Regions from separate parts of the Homo sapiens genome. Here region 1 is linked to region 2. Evidence: promoter capture Hi-C in human tissues and cell types (Jung and others, 2019). All regions are on one chromosome and are shown on one strand. The core of a region is centred on a gene start or on the middle of the fragment in contact, and the rest is flanking DNA. Distances in the headings are between cores, read along the strand shown.

Region 1 (2,831 bases), core at 30-2,529, 94 kb before region 2:
TACAGGGTTGGGGTGGAAGGAGTGCCTTCCTGGCCACTTGACGGGGGGTGGCCCCCAGGAGAGAGCCCTTTGGCACACAAGTGCCTTAGGGAGGAGAAGGCTCAGCACAGTGACTCATATCTGTAATCCCAGCACTTCAGGTGGCTGAGGCGGGAGGATCGCCTGAGGCCAGGAGTTCCAGTCCAGCCTGGGCAACATAGTGAGACCCCATGTCTATAATTTTTAAGGGAAAGAGAGTGGCCAGGAGTTGACAGAAGGTGCTGAGGGAGCCCTGTCCACCACTCTACCCAGCTGGCCTCTAAATTCATGCTGGAAAACAACTTTTAAAATATACATTGGCCGGGCGCGGTGGCTAACGCCTGTCATCCCAGCACTTTGGGAGGCTGTGGCGGGTGGATCACTTGAGGTCAGGAGTTCGAGACCGGCCTGGCCAACATGGCGAAATCCCATCTCTACTAAAAATACAAAAATTAGCCGGGCATGGTGGCGCAAGCCTGTAATCCCAGCTATTTGGGAGGCTGAGGCAGGAGAATAGCTTGAACCCAGGAGGCAGGGATTGCAGTGAGCTGAGATTGCACCACTGCACTCTAGCCTGGGCGACAGAGCGAGACTGTCTCAAAAAATCAAAATTAAATTGGTTGTACCTGGTGACACACACTTGTAGTCCCAGCTACTTAGGAGGTTCAGGTGGGAGGATCGCTTGAGGTGGCAGTGAACTGTGATTGCACCACTGCACTCCAGCCTGGGCAACAGAGCCAGAACCTGTCAAAAAAAAAGGGTGGGCCAGGTGCAGTGGCTCATGCCTGTAATCCCAGCACTTTGGGAGGCCAAGGCGGGCGGATCACGAGGTCAGGAGATCGAGACCATCCTGGCTAACGGTGAAACCCCATCTCTACTAAAAATACAAAAAATTAGCCAGGCGTGGTGGCGGGCACCTGTAGTCCCAGCTACTCGGTAGGCTGAGGCAGGAGAATGGCGTGAACCTGGGAGGCGGAGCTTGCAGTGAGCCAAGATCATACCACTACACTCCAGCCTGCAGCCTGGGCGACAGCAAGACTCCGTTTCAAAAAAAAAGGGTGGAGGGGACATCCAGATGGTCCAACAAAATAACAAAAACCGGCTCAAGAAACAAAAAGGAAGTTCTATGTCATGTTGAATGGCTTCAGGCACAGCTGGATCCAGGTGTCATTACAAATCTCTCTCCATCTCTCAGCTCTTGTTTATGTCACTGTCTCTGATGAACTCTTTTTTTTGTCTGTTTGTTTTGAGACGGAGTTTCACTCTTGTTGCCCAGGCTGCAGTGCAATGGCGTGATCTCGGCTCACCGCAACCTCTGCCTCCCGGGTTTTCAAGCAATTTTCCTGCCTCAGCCTCCCGAGTAGCTGGAATTACAGGCATCCGTCACCATGTCCGGTTAATTTTGTATTTTTAGTAGAGATGGGGTTTCTCCATGTTGGTCACGCTGGTCTCGAACTCCCAGTCTCAGGTGATCTGCCCGCCTCAACCTCCCAAAGTGCTGGGATTATAGGCGTGAGCCACCGTGCCCGGCCACTGGTGAACTCTTACATTGTGGCATCTGGAAACTCTGGGCTGACATTCCAGCAGCCCTTGTGTTCCTGTCCTTTCTCTTAATAGTCTCTGTGTCAGCCCCTGCATCCCACTTTTTTAAGTTTCCACCAATGGGAAGAGTCTTATTCAGGTGCTCTCTGATCCCAAGCTCAAAAACCCCAAGCCAACTGGAAAGTTCTACAAACAATGCCCAGGGCCGGGCCCGGTGGCTTACACCTGTAATCCCAGCATTTTGGGAGGCGGATCACTTGAGGTCAGGAATTCAAGACAAGCCTGGCCAACATGGCCAAACCCCATCTCTACTAAAAATACAAAAACTAGCCAGGTGTGGTGGCTCACGCCTGTAGTCCCAGCTACTTGGGAGGCTGAGGCAGGAGAAGCTTGAACCCGGGAAGCGGAGGTTGCAGTGAGCCGAGATCGTGTCATTGCACTCCAGCCTGGGCCACAGAGCGAGACTCCGTCTCAAAAAAAAAAAGAAAGAAAAACAGTGCCCAGACTGTGGTGTCCAAAACCTATTTCCGGCTCCCACCCTGAGTCCTTAACCAGGGATAGGGATGGGTTAGCACCCGCAGTCCCCAGAGAGCTGCAGGCTTGGGGTGTACTGAGGGGCTGACCCCAGGAGGACAGGCCAGGCTGGGCAGAAGAACCCACGGTGTCCATTCCTTATCACGAGGCCTGCAAGTGACGCTGGCGCCCGAGAGACAAATCACGCCCAGTGCCCCGTCTAGGCTATGGCCTTTCCGTTCATGCTGTAAAGGTGCCTGTGGGTCAGGCAGTCCAGGAGGGCTTCCTGAGGGAGGCAACTCTTGAATATGGGGGAAAAGGCACAAAAGTGCAATGGCGGTGTCTGGGAATATGCCCCTCTTCCTTCTGCCCACACCGGCCCGGTGTGCAGGGGGGAGGCTGGAAGCTGGGAGCTGAGTGAGCATGTACGGTGCTGCGCCGGGTTGTGGGAGAGCAGAGGAAGCAGGGACTGGAGAAAGGCGAGCCCAAGCGAGCCTGGTGCGGTGGAAAGCAGGAGGCAGAAAGACCTGCCTGTCATCAGCTAAGAGCATCCAGAGACGTTCACCGAGCAAGGAGCCAGGCCACCCTCTGCTGCCGGAATGAGGAATAACCCAGGCTCGCAAACGGAATCCTGCAAAGAGATTTCCGACAGGGCCTCCAAGCAACGGGCAACGCTGAGGCTCAGGGAAGCACTGCCGCTCGACCAAAGTCCTACAGCGAATCAGGAACAACGCCTGACGCCTCCAAAAGTGGGCTCC
Region 2 (2,861 bases), core at 13-2,512:
CACACAGTAGGTGCTCAATAAATGGCATATGGGTGGCTCTGCTGACATGCTACAGGCTGGAGGGCAGACTGAGTTGGACCAGCAACACCCTGTATGTCCCCAGCAAACCTCTCTCCCTGTGGTCAGCGCTGTGGGACAGCAGGGTGGGCTTCCTGGAGGAGGGGGTGCTCAGACCGAGCCTGGGTGGAGCCCAGGGAGCAGGACAGTCCCTCCACCCCCTCCTTTAGTGCCCCAGTCCCTCAGCCCGCCCGCCAGGGGGCGCCGTGGGGCGACACCAGAAACTGGTGGAGCCCAGAACCCAGGGCCTGGTCTCATCCCTGCGTGGGTGGGCACGGGGCGGCTCACAGACGCCCGGCGGGAAAGGGTGGGGTGGGGGGAGTCCCGGGGTGCCCCCTCGCGTTGCCGGTCCGCGCAGAGCCGGATTCCAGATGGAAGGTTCGCGGTGGAGATCCCTGCCGGGCCCACTGCTGGGATGGGGAAACTGAGGCCGGAGAGGGTGTGGCCGCGGCTGTGAGGGAGAGGGACCGCCTGGACCCGGGTCTGGCTCTGAAGCCCCGCTGGCAGCCCCGGGGCCCGGCAGGGAGGGCGGGAGGCGGGGTGGGGCGCGTCCCCTGGTGACAGCAGCGCCCGGGAATGCGCCAGCTGGGAGGGTCTCTCCGCCCCCCGCGCGCGGCCCACGGGGCCGAGCCTCTCCCCAGTGCGCTGGGGCCCTGCGCTGGGGGTGACCGGGACCTGGGTCGGGGAACCCCCGGATGGGAGCCCAGGCGCGCCAGGGTCCCCATCCACGAGCAGGTCGACCCCCCGCGAGAGGGGTGAGGGGCAGGACCAGGGGAGGGGGCTGTGACCGGGGATGGGGACGCCGGTGGGACGCAATCCGGGCGTCGGCGGGGTAGGGGCAGCGCCCGGGACTCCCAGACCCAGGGCGGGGTGACCTCGGTTCGCGCACATTCCCGGGCCCTGAGCGCGGCGCCCGGAATAGCAGCCCCGGGGCAGAGGAGGGCGGTCAGTCCCCGCGCCGCGCCCCCGCCCGAGCCTGCCAAGGTCACCCGGACCCGGGCGCCCGACACCAGCCTGCGGCTCCGGGACCCCTGCGCTCGCGTCCGCCGGGCAGTCCCCTGCCGCAGATCCGCGCCCGCCGCGCGAGGGCGCCCGGGGCCGCCGCCCCTCCTGACCCGGGCCTGGGCGCGCCTGCGGAGGCCGCGGTGGGAGGGACCGTCCCAGGCTCCCCACCCCGCCCAGCACCTTGGGCCCCGCCGCTTCCGCTCGCCCTGGGGCCGCTCAGGGAGCCGGGACGCGCTGCCTGGGCTCCGCGCAGCCGGTAAGTCCATCTGCCTATCCTCCCACTTTCTCCGGGGGAAACTGAGGCCCAGAGGTGCGGCTTGCCTTGAGATCCCTCCGCCAGTCCGGGCTGCAGCCCACACGGGGAGGGGAGAGCCTTGATTCTGGGCAGGGCCCATTGAGGAGGGGGTAGGGTGGTCCTTGTAGCCCCCCACTTTTCACCACCTAGACCCCCACTCCTCAAACCAGGCTTAGAGTCCGGTGGGGGTGGTCAGAAGGTCAAGCCCCCTCCCCCTGTTTTTTTTGGTTGGTTGGTTGTTTTTGAGACTGAGTCTCACTATGTCGCCCAGGCTGGAGTGCATTGGCCCCATCTCGGCTCACTGCAACCTCCGCCTCCTGGGTTCAAGCGATTCTCCTGCCTTAGCCTCCCAAGTAGCTGGGATTACAGGTGTGCACCACCACACCGGGCTAATTTTTGTGTTTTAGTACAGATGGGGTTTTACCATGTTGGTCAGGCTGGTCCCAAACTTCTGACCTCAGGTGATCCGCCTGTCTTGGCCTCCCAAAGTGCTGGGATTACAGGCGTGAGCCACCGCACCTGGCCCCCCTCCCCTTGTTTTAAGTTTCTGGTGCAGACTTCTTCCTGCTTCCTGGGCCAGCCCAGGCTCTAGGCTCAGAGAGGGGCACGGATGCAGCAGACCACACAGCTGTCTCAGTACCTAGAGATACCCAGGACCCTAGACCCTTGGTGCCTCAGAAGTCCAAATGCTGGAGCCAGGGAAACAGGGTCCAGGTGGGACCCAGCCTCTTCCCCAGCTGGTGCCCGGGCCGGGGCTCACCCACCTGCCTTCAGGCTCTGCTGGCAGCAGGACGCCCTGGCTCACTTGGCGGCTGCTTCCCTTCCCCCCTCTTTCCCCCTGCAGGCTGGGGTCATGAGGAGGGTGTGGATGGCAAGTGACTTCATCCCTGCCCTGACAGGATGGAGAAACTAAGGCCCAGAGAGGCAGTCAGCCTCCTCCCCTTCCCTGCTCCAGCCTCAGCAGTGGCCCCTTCCCTCCACGGGCTGCCCCGGAGCTCAGTCCCACCCCCTCCGCCGATGAGGCCATGAGGCACCGAACGGACCTGGGCCAGGTCACCCCCTCCCTGTCCCATCCCCAATCCGGGGGACTCCCTGCTGTCTGGGAGCTGAGGGAGCCCTGGGGCCGGGGTGCAGCTGAGGGCCTCTTCTAGGGACCCAACTCCTGATCCAGCCCCTGCCGGCCGCACCTTCCGCAGGGTGTCACAGAATCATGGACTGAGTCCACTTGGCCCCCACTGCACAGATGGGGAAACTGAGGCCTGGGAGAGTGGAGTGGCTGGCCTCAGGCCACACGGAAAGGTAGAAGCAGTGATGGTGGGGAGGGCGGGGAGGGGGCCCCAGCCCTAGGAGGCACCTGTGTACTATTTTTGAATGATCCCTCCAATCATCAAGCATCGATTAAGCACCTACTGTCTGCATTATAGCACAATACACATATCAATAATATTGTAGGCTGGGTGCAGTGGCTCATGCCTATAATCCTAGCACTTTGGGAGGCCAAAGC

What was found. The method cuts DNA at HindIII sites, captures the fragments that hold promoters and counts their contacts. A contact is called where the count stands out against the background at its distance.
Region 1: a contact is called between a fragment that was not itself captured here and the fragment with the promoter of ADAMTSL5 in region 2, in 2 of the 25 tissues and cell types used here (dorsolateral prefrontal cortex and mesendoderm cells).

The regions. Positions count from the first base shown.
Region 1 is chr19:1,605,806-1,608,636 of GRCh38, reverse strand. No RefSeq gene overlaps it. Among named protein-coding and RNA genes, the nearest start is that of UQCR11, 1.8 kb to the right of the region's middle. RefSeq lists enhancers at 1-35, 66-115, 1,598-2,219, 2,675-2,831. The HindIII fragment of the contact is 3,073 bases long and covers 1-2,815 here.
Region 2 is chr19:1,511,420-1,514,280 of GRCh38, reverse strand. It overlaps ADAMTSL5 (ADAMTS like 5), which reads left to right and starts at 1,262. Exons shown (of 12, transcript NM_213604.3): 1 at 1,262-1,318. RefSeq lists silencers at 149-228, 1,068-1,437. The HindIII fragment of the contact is 17,964 bases long and covers 1-2,861 here.